Linked DNA regions of Homo sapiens: all the other regions are linked to region 1. The links are contacts of gene promoters, found by promoter capture Hi-C in human tissues and cell types (Jung and others, 2019). All regions are on one chromosome and are shown on one strand. The core of a region is centred on a gene start or on the middle of the fragment in contact, and the rest is flanking DNA. Distances in the headings are between cores, read along the strand shown.

Evidence for each region. The method cuts DNA at HindIII sites, captures the fragments that hold promoters and counts their contacts. A contact is called where the count stands out against the background at its distance.
Region 2: a contact is called between a fragment that was not itself captured here and the fragment with the promoter of KCNRG in region 1, in 1 of the 25 tissues and cell types used here (dorsolateral prefrontal cortex).
Region 3: a fragment that was not itself captured here is called in contact with the fragment with the promoter of KCNRG in region 1 in 1 of the 25 tissues and cell types used here (dorsolateral prefrontal cortex).
Region 4: a contact is called between a fragment that was not itself captured here and the fragment with the promoter of KCNRG in region 1, in 1 of the 25 tissues and cell types used here (dorsolateral prefrontal cortex).
Region 5: a contact is called between a fragment that was not itself captured here and the fragment with the promoter of KCNRG in region 1, in 1 of the 25 tissues and cell types used here (dorsolateral prefrontal cortex).

The regions. Positions count from the first base shown.
Region 1 is chr13:50,014,099-50,016,753 of GRCh38, reverse strand. It overlaps KCNRG (potassium channel regulator), which reads right to left and starts at 1,310. Exons shown (of 2, transcript NM_173605.2): 1 at 683-1,310. The coding sequence starts at 1,260. It overlaps TRIM13 (tripartite motif containing 13), which reads right to left. Exons shown (of 2, transcript NM_213590.3): 2 at 1-2,655. The region is part of intron 10 of DLEU2 (deleted in lymphocytic leukemia 2); the gene reads left to right. The HindIII fragment of the contact is 16,932 bases long and covers 1-2,655 here.
Region 2 is chr13:48,545,226-48,547,880 of GRCh38, reverse strand. All of the region lies in intron 1 of LOC124903174 (a long non-coding RNA gene), which reads right to left. Among named protein-coding and RNA genes, the nearest start is that of RCBTB2, 13 kb to the right of the region's middle. The HindIII fragment of the contact is 5,674 bases long and covers 1-2,655 here.
Region 3 is chr13:51,193,444-51,196,098 of GRCh38, reverse strand. The region is part of intron 1 of LOC107984554 (a long non-coding RNA gene); the gene reads left to right. It also overlaps the pseudogene PRELID3BP2. Among named protein-coding and RNA genes, the nearest start is that of FAM124A, 28 kb to the left of the region's middle. The HindIII fragment of the contact is 3,934 bases long and covers 1-2,655 here.
Region 4 is chr13:51,079,241-51,081,895 of GRCh38, reverse strand. No RefSeq gene overlaps it. Among named protein-coding and RNA genes, the nearest start is that of C13orf42, 31 kb to the left of the region's middle. The HindIII fragment of the contact is 3,142 bases long and covers 1-2,655 here.
Region 5 is chr13:51,020,111-51,022,765 of GRCh38, reverse strand. It overlaps the pseudogene GUCY1B2. Among named protein-coding and RNA genes, the nearest start is that of C13orf42, 90 kb to the left of the region's middle. The HindIII fragment of the contact is 5,319 bases long and covers 1-2,655 here.

The sequences.
Region 1 (2,655 bases), core at 61-2,560:
ATTTTACGGGGGGAAAAATGTTTGTGACAGCAGAGTGGAAATCAGCGTTAGGATCCAGCCAAGAACAACAGAGGGAGTAAGTGAAGAATTGACTCAGGAGCAACTATCCTTAACATACTGACAGCCTATCCCAATATTTTGAGTTGTTTAAGAGCCAAGGCTGTAACAGGATACCAAATTTGCCATGAGATATATCTGTCTTTAAGGGTGTTTAAAAATAAAGTCAGCTGAAGGAAAAACAGTAGTTGAATCATAAAACTGAAAGAACAACTTATATAGTGTGTAAGGAACTCAAGAGAAACCAGTGAGCGAGCCTTTATGTGAACCACTGAAACAATCTCTTAAAAATAAGGCAATTCTTTTCTAAGTCAAATTCATTAGCAATGGAACATAATCTACAAAATTATTTTCTCCCATGATTTGAATGTCCATAGTCTCAGTTTTTTCTGGGCAGTCTTCATTTATTCCTTTTGTCCCACCTAATAATAGCCCCTTTCACTCTAAAAAGTATCCCAGTTTGGAAAATAATTATTTGGTCATTCTACCCAACTCCACTGGTTACCCCAAAACATTATTTTGAATAATCATCTTTTCCAGAAGTTACAGGCCTGAGGAACTTCAAGTTTTTAGAGAAAACATCACAAACTGGTATACAAGAGAAATACTGCAAAGTACAAAATACCTGACTCCAGTTTGGTTATCAGTAGTGCTGTCAGAACCACACTGGAAAACCAGGTCATGGTAAGAAGGTCTTTGTGGAGGCAGTGGAAGTAAGGTCATCTGAGGAGGGAAAAAGTTACCATTCCAGGTCGGCGCTGAAGGTTGTTCTGTAAACACTGTAATCCTCCCTGTTAGCATCTCAATTGTTTTGCTGCAAGAGCCAAACACCCTGAAAAAAGCTTGAGTGTTCCGGCTTAGGAAATGTACCTCCACAAGAGCAGGTCTTGGCTGTAGCAGGTATGGGTTTAAGAGATCAACTAGAGAACGAAGTTCATAGAAAAGAGCCTCTCTCTGAAGCCTAAGATAGTCTGAAAATTCAGTGGGTAATAAAAGCTGGTGAGTTCTCAAAAAATCTAAGATGAAACTAAACAAATCACCATCTCTGTCTACAAAAATCTGGCCACCAACCATCTTGAATTCTTGGTCTCTGCCATCTAACATGCGTGCCAAACGAGAAGCAGGAAACTGCTTTATCGTAGAAAACCTTGTCGTGAATATCTTCCCTCCCACATTCAAAGTGACCAGTTCCTGACTACTCATTCTTCCCTCACTTCAAACTAGAGGCTACCATCAGCCACACTTAGGAAATCAACCTATAACCATAAATGTTGCTAGTTATACATGATTATGCAGTGGAGGGGAGGGAAGAATAACAAAAACCAGACTTAGATTCCCAGGAAACTACTGTAAGGTAAATAGTGTATCCATGGCTGTGTTTGCAAATTCGAGTTGCCTGGGAACTTGCAGTATACAAAATGAAAAAGCAACAGATGAGGAACTAAATAGCTTAAGGAAAACTGCCAATATATCTGAAGATAGACATCAAATAGATCCCTTTCCTGTCTTACATTTAAAAACTTATCCATGAAAACCTAGTAAAACTATATATATATATATATATATATATATATATATATATATATATATATATATATATATTTTTTTTTTTTTTTTTTTTATTACTGGGAGGGGAAAAGCATTCTCCCTCCCCATACCTGTCTACCACGCAGAGGCTAGACTTAAACGTTTTTCTTAATTTCTTATGATCTCCTTAGAAATTTAGTGGCTAAATCATGAATTACATGTTAGGAATGAGACAGCCTGGCAAGCTCAATTTGACTATTCTCATAGCTAGAAGGAAATCATTTCTTCTGTGCTTTAAATTTAGTTGCCACCTTTTATCCTGTCCCCATTTTCATTACCTCCTCTCAACCAAATTAGAGGAGGACTGAGGTAAAGAACTCTTATTTTCAGAAAGTCTATTCCACTTAATGGGCTTTCAAGGAATATCTTACTCTATGACACAAATAAGGCAGACTAGAGAGCAGTTATAAGGTTACTTCTTTGTTATATGAATTCTAAGCAAGGTGTTTATTCCATGAGAGGGTATCTTTATCTCTTGTGAGCAGACAGAACAGCATTAGTGTTCAGCTGATTACTTTGTAATAGCTGACAGACTGTTTTATCTGTTGTCAAATTAGTCTTAACTACACTAAACATTCTTTCTGTAAGCAAGTGGATTGGTTTGGTTGTACACTTGCCATCTTTCGAACAAAACAACACATAGCTGCCAGAAAAAAGGTAGTCTTCCCATTTCCTGCTCTTGCCATGTGTTCTATATATACATATATATGTATATATATGTATGTGTACATATGTGTGTGTGTGTGTGTATATATATATATATATTTTTTTTTTTTTTTTTTTTTTTTTTTTTTTTGGTAGAGACTGGGTCTTGCTATGTTTACGAAGCTGGTTTCGAACTGGAACTCCTAGCCTCAAATAATCCTCCCACATCACTGTCCTAGAATGCTGAGATTATAGACATGAGCCACCCTGCCCAGCCAGCTGATCCTTTTTTTTAACCTATCTATGCTTTTGCTTGCATAGCCACTTAACATTTCTAGTTGATCATCTTTGGTGAAAACTACAAAA
Region 2 (2,655 bases), core at 108-2,607, 1.5 Mb after region 1:
TCTTTTTCCAAAATGTCAAAAGCAGATATTTATTTATTTATTTGAGATAGGGTTTACTTTGTCACCCAGGCTGGAGTGCAGTGGGAGGATCATAGCTCACTGCAGCCTTGAACTCTTGGGCTCAAGTGATCCCCCGACCTCTACCTCCCCAGTAGCTAGGACTACAGATGTGCGCCACCACACCCAGTTATGACCAGGCCCATTCCAGAAATTATAAGAACACTCCAAGGTGCTAGAGATGGGGGTCTCACTATGTTGCCTAGATGGTCTCGAGCTCCTGGCCTCAGTGGATCCTCCTAAAGTGCTGGGATTACAGGCATGAGCCACTGTGCTTAGCCTTAATTTTTTTTTTTTTTTTTTGAGACAGAGTCTTGCTCTGTCACCCAGGCTGCAGTGCAGTGGCATAATCTCGGCTCACTGCAACCTCCACCTTCCAGGTTCAAGTGATTCTCCTGCCTCAGCCTACAGAGTAGCTGAGATTACAGGTGCACACTACTATGCCCGGCTAATTTTTGTATTTTAATAGAGACGGGTTTTCTCTGTTTTGGCCAGGGTGGTCACGAACTCCTGGCCTCAAGAAATCTACTTGCCTCGGCCTCCCAAAGTGCTGTGATTATAAGCATGAGCACCATGCCCAGGCTGGCCTTAATTTTTTAAATAAGAGGTTGTATACATATTTTACCTACTAGATTTAAATAGAAATTTTCTGTATATGATTAAGACTAGTTATATATTAAGATAGAATTAACCATGTAAGCCTTCTGATATTGTAGCAACAAACACAGATGAAATGAAAGGACGCAATGTATACATTCTCATGAAATGGTCACTTGAGTTCCATTGAAATCTGTGTTCATAGCCTAAATGTAGTAAATTGAGATAATATGGATAATCTCAGTCAAAACTCATTTATCTCATCATTATTTAACTATATCAGGTCCAAGTTATGCCATGTGACTCAGCTCTTCATTTTCTAAAACTTTAAAGTTTTAAATCCGTAGGAAGTTTCATCCATTTTTAAAATATGCTGTAAGAAGATGCTGGATTCAGACAGACCTGGGCTTGGTACTCAGTTCATCTTAAACAAGTTACTCAGCCTCTTTAAGCCTCTCTTTTCTAAAATGAGGACAGTGACACAGTGCTCATCTCATGGAGTTATTGTGAGGCTTAAAATAGGTCATATGTAAGGACTTAGAGCAATGCCTAAACATAATATGCATGCTCCAATATTGTCATTATCACTATGATTAATGGCACATGGTACCTAGTACACAGCACTCAATAAGTGTTAGTTCCTTTTCTCTCTAACAGAAGCTCTTGTTGCCATGGTTCTGCATTTCAAATCATTTGCCATATACATGTCTTACCACTAATTTATATTCTAAAGCCAAATCAGTTCAGGGTAAAGGAGTTACACTGAGACAGGAGTTTCAGGGACAATGCTAAAAACATCAACTTTGTTCTAAAAAATAGTTTTGATCATATTCTGTGAACAGACGAGAATTGTATGACTTAGCGGTGTCAGCTTTCTAGCATTATCTTCAAAACACAATTTTCCGTTTCACAGTGGATGCTTTCATAGTGATCCATAGGCCTGTATCCTCTGATGAGCCTAGAAAGCATCAGAATAATCCTCTTCAAGTCTCAAACACTGAAAGAAAAAGGGAGGGGACCAGCAGGTTCCCTGAGGATTATCTCTTTGGGGTAGAAAATCCTCTGAGCTTTTTGGAAGATGTGGAAGACGTATCTGATCCATGAGCTGGTTCAAGTGGTCCTATGGGGTAGGAAAGGGAACAGGGAACTAGGAAGACTGGTTAAATGAGGGCCTGGACATTCCCATGAATGAAGTGGCAGTGCTGGGTCATAGGTGATCAGGAAAGACAGAGTGCTATGGAAAATGTTGAGATACACAGATGTGCTGGGAAAGCATTCCAGGATGTTGAAACCCCGAGTGAGCCAAGGAAAAGCTAAATCCTAATCAAAGAGAAGTCCAAAAGAAAGCCCTGTCAATCTTGTGGAAAGAGATCAGAAATAGAAGTGAACTGAGGTGAAAAGTAAATAGAAGAGAGCATGGGGCATAGCCACAGAGCCTGGAGCATTGCATTGCATCTTCCCGGTTTCTCAATAGTGTGGGTCCTGCCTACTTGGCAGCCCTGTTGTAAACCATTGACTGATAATCGCCTCCAAATTTGCCTGTCTTAAGCTTCATTTCTCCTTCTATAAATTACTTGAGAAGTCCCCTGGGAACAGAATCAACAGCCATTTTGGTGGTGATGTTGGGACAGGGTTTCAGTCCCACGGGCCATACCCCAGGCTGCATAACTCCAGGGGATAGGGCCAGAAATTTTCTATAGACCTCTCTCTTAATTTTAATTTTGGAAACCCTGAAGCTGAGTTTACCTCAAACCCATCACAAGGGTAATTATCTCAAAGTACAGAAAAAATTAAAATGTTCATGTTGTTTCTTATTCCACTGTCATGTATATGAGACCATCAGTTTAGACTATACTATTGAGCTTTAGAAACATTATACCAGGTCTTGCAAAATGAGACGATATATTGGTTTCCAAGGTTTCTCTAGCGACTTGTGTCTCAGGCCCCAGACTCTAGCTAGGAACTAGCACACCAGATAGGAATCTCAGGAGAGAGGATTAA
Region 3 (2,655 bases), core at 112-2,611, 1.2 Mb before region 1:
GGAATAAACCATATTTGAGAATTCGTAATGGAAGGCAGTTCCCACTCTCTGTAGAAAAGTCTATGGCTCTACAACTTTCCAGAGGGACCTGTATTTCTGTTCAGTACGTCAAATCCAACCATTCTTGGGTTCCTAGGGTTTGGATGTTTCTGCACTGCAGCTGTTGTAACAGTGTCCCATGGGTTGTCAAAGATATGCTCTGAAGTCCAGATCTTCATGGTGCTGGTGGCATGCAGGTAGTGACAGGGGACATGAGGCAAAGAAGTGACACCTGCTCCCACCCACCCCTACTGACTCCCTGTATACTACTTAATCATTTTTTTCTCCATGTTGCATTCTGTATAATTTCTTCTGATTTATCCTTCAGTTTACTAATTCTCTTCAATCACATAGAATCTGCTGTTTAACCCATCCATGTAATTTTAAATTTTATTGTGTTTTTATTTCTATGAAATTCCATTTTAAAATCTGCTTTGTCATTTTTTATCTTTTTCTGTTTCTGCAGAGTTCCACAAGTTTTATCTTTTATGGATTCAAACATAGTGAGCATGATTATTTTATAGACTGATAATTCCTATGTAAGCCTTGTGAATCTACTTCTGTTACCTGTTGCTTCTGCTGGTTCTTTCTCATGGAGTCTAGCTTCCTACCTGCCTAGTTATCTTTGACTGGATATTAGATGTTGTATTTGGAAAAAAAAAACGCATAGGGGTTATTTGAAGCCTAAGATTAAGGAAAACTTCATTCAGATAGGATTTCTAATTGTTTCTGCCAGGCATGGAGATGCTACCAGTTTGGGATGACCTTAAAACAAATTCAAGGCTTGAGATTCACTAGATCAGGGGTCCCCAACCCCCAGGCCACAAACCTACCTAGATAGGCCTGTGGCCTATTAGGAACTGGGCCGCACAGCAGAAGATGAGCGGCGGGCAAGGGAGCTTCATCGGTATTTACAGCCACTCCCCATCACTCGCATTACCACCTGAGCTCTGCCTCCTGTCAGATCAGGGCAGCATTAGATTCTCATAGGAGTGCAAACCTCGTTGTGAACAGCACATGTGAGGGATCTAGGTTACATGCTCCTTATGAGAATCGAATGCCTGATGATCTGTCACTGTCTCCCATCACCCCCAGACGGGACTGTCTAGTTGCAGGAAAACAAGCTCAGGGCTCCCATTGGTTCTACATTATGGTGAGTTGTATAATTATTCCATTATATATTACAATGTAATAATAATAGAAATAAAGTACAAAATAAATGTAATGCACTTGAATCATCCTGAAACCATCCCCCTACTCCAGTCTGTGGAAAAGTTGTCTTCCACGAAGCCAGTTGCTAGTGCCAAGAAGGTTGGGGACCACTACACTGGATGATCCAGGAATCAGGTTTAGGTGTAATTTTATGTGACATCATCTATTCCTGAACTAGCCTCACCTTTTAGACCCTTTAAGGTCCCAGTCTTTTAAGTTCTCAAAACTAGAAATTGTTTTATTGTTGTATCCCCATAATGTTTAGGTCCCCAAGAAGACTGTTTTGGGATGGACACATGTCCTCAGAGCAAAGACAGATATTTTCTCCCCCTTGGACTATAATTTTTCTTCATTTTTATATTTCCTTATCATTTTGCCAGCTCTTACATGTTTTAAAATATTTTGTCCAGAGTTTTTAATTGCTAAGTTTTGTTTGGCTTTAATAATTTAGCCCATTGTTACTGGAATTAAGGAGAGCTCTTAGATATATTTTGAAGGCAAACCGGAGACTTTCTGATGGACTGGAAGGAGCATGTGAAAGAAAGGAGTCAGGAGACTGTAAGATCTTTGACCTGTGCAACTAAGAGTGAGGGGAGCAGACAGGGAAGCAGGCTATGGGAAGGTTCAGGAATTTACTTTGGGGCATGTTAAGAGGCCTACTGTAGTTTGATTTAAAAGTAATGGCAAAAACCGCAGTTACTTTTGCACCAACCTAATAGCTATGCCAGTTAAGAAGATGAGTAGGTAGCTGGGTATATAAGCTTGGAGTTCAGGGAGGAGGTTAAATCTAGAGGTTAAAACCCAAGGATGATTGCTGAAGACCTGTTCTTGAAGTGGCAGTCGTTGTTTGAAATGTATTAAGATCACTTCTGCAAATTTAGATGGACAAGACTATACTAGTGACAAGGTTTTAAAAACTGAGGAAACAACGCAAGATTTTCTGAGGATATCTGAGTATAGCATTTTTGGTAATTGTTTCTTATTTATTGCAAATTATGTTTGATAACTAGAAAACAGATTAAATAAGAGACAGGGACATTTCCCAATTCTGTGCCCACTGACCACTCAATTTTATTTCTATACATACATCAATTTCTAGAATATAAAGCCATGCATTTTCTAGTCTTACAGTCAGAAGAAAGGAGTTGGTTACTCAGGCAGAATGCCCAATCTCTGCTAAGAGGCCCTTTGGAAATAAAATGTATTCTTCCAGGGGTAAGTTGAATGTGGTCCTGAATGAAGGCGAGAGAGAAAAGTCGCTGACCTTTCATTTTCCTTGACATTGTTGATTTGATTTTTGCATCTATTTTTGTAATAATTCAGTAGGGTACAGGAATCATTTTCCTTTTCATCACTTTTGTGTTTGTTTAAAATCCAGCATTCCATCCTACTCCCTTTCACTCT
Region 4 (2,655 bases), core at 98-2,597, 1.1 Mb before region 1:
TCTGCTTCATGGGGCAAGATGCATGGAGCTGCTAGTTTGATTTGAATCGTGTGTACCCAGCCATGTGCCATGCAACTGAGAGCATTGCTGCCAAGACCGACCTTCCTGGTGCCCATTCTCAGACACAGAGCCCAAAGTGTCTCTAACAGGACACTGTGTTCCTCTCACCACTGTTCGCCTTTGCAGAGAGAATGAGTTTCCTGTTGCTGCTGTAATAAATTACCACAGACTTAAAGGCTTAAAACAATATATATTTATGCTTTTACAGTCTGGAAGTCAGAAGAACCAAAATCAGTTTCACCAGGTTAGGTCAAGATGTTGGCAGGGCTGTGTTCCTTCTGGAAGCTTTAGAGGAGAATCCATTTCCTTGCTTTTTTCAGCTTTCAGGGGCTTCCTGCATTCCTTGGCTGGTGACCCCATCCTTGCATCACTCCAACCTATTGATTCCATCATCATGTCTCCACCTGCTCAGTCTGTGCTCCTGCTTCCCATTTATAAGGATTTTTTTTTTTTTTTTTGAGACAGAGTTTTGCTCTTGTTGCCCAGGCTGGAGTGCAATGGGCACGATCTTGGCTCACCGCAGCCTCTGCCTCCTGGGTTCAAGTGATTCTCTTGCCTCAGCCTCCTGAGTAGCTGGGATTACAGGCATGTGCCACCATGCCTGGCTAATTTTGTATTTTTAGTAGAGACGGGGTTTCCCCATGTTGGTCAGGCTGGTCTCGAACTCCTGACCTCAGGTGATCTGCCCACCTTGGCCTCCCAAAGTGCTGGGATTACAGGTGTGAGCCTACGTGCCCGGCCCATTTATAAGGATCTTTGTGATTACATCACTCTCACCTGAGCAATCTCTCCATCTCCAAATCCTTAATTTAATCAAATCTGCAAAATATCTTTTGCCATATAAAATGACATTCACAGGTTCTGGGGATTAGGATGGAAACATCTTTGGGAAGCCATTATCTAGCCAACCATACAGCATCACAAGATGTTCTAGTCCTAACAGACCCAGCCCAATTCCCTTTTAAGCTTCATTATAAAAGCCCAATATTGGGAGGAGCCAAGATGGCCGAATAGGAACAGCTCCGGTCTACAGCTCCCAGCGTGAGCGACGCAGAAGACGGGTGATTTCTGCATTTCCATCTGAGGTACCGGGTTCATCTCACTAGGGAGTGCCAGACAGTGGGCGCAGGTCAGTGGGTGTGTGCACCGTGTGCGAGCCGAAGCAGGGCGAGGCATTGCCTCACTCGGGAAGCACAAGGGGTCAGGGAGTTCCCTTTCCGAGTCAAAGAAAGGGGTGACGGACGGCACCTGGAAAATCGGGTCACTCCCACCCGAATACTGTGCTTTTCCGACGGGCTTAAAAAACGGTGCACCACCAGATTATATCCTGCACCTGGCTCGGAGGGTGCTACGCCCACGGAGTCTCGCTGATTGCTAGCACAGCAGTCTGAGATCAAACTGCAAGGCGGCAGCGAGGCTGGGGGAGGGGCGCCCGCCATTGCCCAGGCTTGCTTAGGTAAACAAAGCAGCCGGGAAGCTCCAACTGGGTGGAGCCCACCACAGCTCAAGGAGGCCTGCCTGCCTCTGTAGGCTCCACCTCTGGGGGCAGGGCACAGACAAACAAAAAGGCAGCAGTAACCTCTGCAGACTTAAATGTCCCTGTCTGACAGCTTTGAAGAGAGCAGTGGTTCTCCCAGTACTCAGCTGGAGATCTGAGAACGGGCAGACTGCCTCCTCGAGTGGGTCCCTGACCCCTGACCCCCGAGCAGCCTAACTGGGAGGCACCCCCCCAGCAGGGGCACACTGACACCTCACAGGGCAGGGTACTCCAACAGACCTGCAGCTGAGGGTCCTGTCTGTTAAAGGAAAACTAACAAACAGAAAGGACATCCACACCAAAAAACCATCTGTATATCACCATCATCAAAGACCAAAAGTAGATAAAACCACAAAGATGGGGAAAAAACAGAACAGAAAAACTGGAAACTCTAAAAAGCAGAGCGCCTCTCCTCCTCCAAAGGAACGCAGTTCCTCACCAGCAACGGAACAAAGCTGGATGGAGAACGACTTTGACGAGCTGAGAGAAGAAGGCTTCAGACGATCAAATTACTCTGAGCTACAGGAGGACATTCAAACCAAAGGCAAAGAAGTTGAAAACTTTGAAAAAATTTTAGAAGAATGTATAACTAGAATAACCAATACAGAGAAGTGCTTAAAGGAGCTGATGGAGCTGAAAACCAAGGCTCGAGAACTATGTGAAGAATGCAGAAGCCTCAGGAGCCGATGCGATCAACTGGAAGAAAGGGTATCAGCGATGGAAGATGAAGTGAATGAAATGAAGTGAGAAGAGAAGTTTAGAGAAAAAAGAATAAAAAGAAATGAGCAAAGCCTCCAAGAAATATGGGACTATGTGAAAAGACCAAATCTACGTCTGATTGGTGTACCTGAAAGTGACAGGGAGAATGGAACCAAGTTGGAAAACACTCTGCAGGATATTGTCCAGGAGAACTTCCCCAATCTAGCAAGGCAGGCCAACGTTCAGATTCAGGAAATACAGAGAACACCACAAAGATACTCCTCGAGAAGAGCAACTCCAAGACACATAATTGTCAGATTCACCAAAGTTGAAATGAAGGAAAAAATGTTAAGGGCAGC
Region 5 (2,655 bases), core at 79-2,578, 1.0 Mb before region 1:
CAAATATATTCTGTATGTTACCTTTTCACTGTTGGTTGTGTCCTTTCATGCACAAAAGATTTTAATTTTGATGAAATCCAATTTATCTATTTTCTTTTTTGTTGCCAGTGATTTTGGTGCCATATCCAAGAAATTGTTGCCAAATCTGATGTTGTGAAACTTTTCTTCTATGTTTTCTTTTAAGAGTTTATGTTTTAGCTCTTACATTTAGGTCTTTGATTCCTTTTGAGCAAATTTTTGCATATGCCTTGAAAGGGCACACATTCTGAGCTATCTTTCTATTAGAGGGATGTTTAGTTATTCCAGGGATAAGCACAGGCAGAACTCGGGGGATGTCCAAGGGGAGAATGACATGTTCTGGGAACCCGAGTGAGGTGTAGAGTGGAGTGATGGGAGAGGAGGCTGGCAAGATGAGGACTTGAACTCTATCATGCAGCTGGAAACATGCTGAAGTGTCTGCCATGATCAGATTTGATGTTTAGAATGATCACTCTGGAGGTGTGTGAAGGATGGGTCACAGTGTAGAGAAAATGGATCCTGGGAGGCCAGACAGAGGCTGCTTCTGGAGTCCAGGAAAGAAACTCTAAAGTGCTAAACTCTGGCAGTGGCACTGGAGTGGCAATTGGAGGATAGACTCACAAGATAATTAAGGCAGGACTTGGTGACTGGATGTGGGGGGTGGAAGAGAATCGTTAGGATAATTATTAGCTTCCTTGATTGGGTAACTGGGTGATGAAGGTGCAATTAACTGAAAAAAAGACATAATGTAATGTCCTTGAGGCAGGGATTTTTGCCAGTTTGAGTCACTGCTGTATCCTCAATGCTTAAAACAGTGTGCCTAGCTCATCGCAGGGACTAACTACATATGTAATGAAAGAACTAATAGAAAGAGAAGATTTGTGGAGGGGATCGAAGTTGAGTTCAGTGCAGATATCCATGAACAGATACCTAATAGGGAGAACAGAAGAAAAAAAAACACTGTTCCTGGAGGTATTAATTGTCAGAATCATCCTAGAGTGTATTTTGGCAATACGTATCAAAAGCCTTAAAAATGAGGATATTCTTTGTCTAAGTAACCCGTGTCTAAGAATATATCTTTTTAACAAACTAACTAGCCATGATTATACACAAAGACTGCCTCAAGCTTATTCATCACAATGTTGTTTATACAATGATAAGCTAGATAAAATATAATCAATACTAGCTTATTATTTAATAAAAGACAGTATGAGCAAGGTAACCAGCAAAAATTAAGATGAATATCTATATTTAATACTATGAAAGAATATGTTATATATTTTAAGTGAAAAATTCAGATTATGAAAAGAAGATGCCATGTAATCCCTGTTTTTTTGTAAAACAAAGATATACTACAAAATATTAACAGTAATTATCCATGTGGTATGATTATGGGTGATTTTTACTATTTTCTTTCACTTTTTTTGTTTTCTGCAATGAATGTGTACTGCTTTTACAATAACATAACAAACATATCTATTTTTAAAGAAATACACATATTGAGTTCAGGAAGCAAGGTTTCTCTGGAAATTCAGATGCAGTCAGCGTGGTGTAGGATGCAGTTGTGTGATGCTAAATGAGAATACCAAGACAAAACCCTCAGGAACACTAACATTTAAGGAATGAGATTAAAATAATGTAAGTAAAAATTCAAAGAATTAGGGGACATCTCAGAGAGAAAGCAGTGTCAGAGAAGTCCTAGGAAGTGAGATTTCGGGAAGAAGGGTCTGGTTAACATCATCAAACAGCAGAAAGGCTGAGTAAAGAAAAGGCCAAGGAACTTGTGTTGGCATCGGTAGCATGGAGGCCATTGATAGATGGGAGCCACTTCAATGTAGGCAATGGACACAGCTGCTAGGGACAGAGGGGAGATAAGTAAGGTCTCACAGACCTTGGGTAAAAGAGAAAGAGCGTGACTGTGCAGTAACTAGAAGCACACAGTGTGGGAGATGATTGGTTGTCCAGCGAGCTCGTCTCAGTCCCTACTGGTGACATACTCTACTGTTGCATTTCTCTCCATGATGGCAAGGCCAGATGATCTGGATGGAGTCCATGTGGTGCATGGTGTACCTGTGCTCTCCGAAGCTCCGCAGCCTGCAAGAGCTGGAAGAACTCAATATGCATCTTTCTGACATCGCCCCCAACGACACCACCAGGGATCTCATCCTCCTGAACCAGCAGCGGCTGGCTGAGATAGAGCTGTCCAACCAGCTGGAAAGGAAGAAGGAGGAGCTACAGGTCCTCTCCAAGCACTTGGCCATTGAAAAGAAGAAAACAGAGACCTTACTTTATGCCATGCTGCCCAAACACGTGGCCAACCAGCTGAGGGAGGGCAAAAAGGTGGCTGCAGGTAAGGCACCCTCTCCTCCACAGCGTCCTCTGAGCAGAGCGTGGTATGTCTTAGTGGTCAGGGCCACAGGCTTTGAAGCCAGACAGAAGTGGTTTTGAATTCTGGCTCTGTCACTTGTAAGTGGCATGATCTTGGGGTAATTACTCCACCTGCATATTCTCAGCTTTGTTCTCTCTACATTAATAATAATAATAATAAAAATAATACAGGAGTGAAACATGAATTATATAAAAATGGTTGTCAACTACACACACATTAAATTCTCTAAGAATTTAAGGATATGTCCT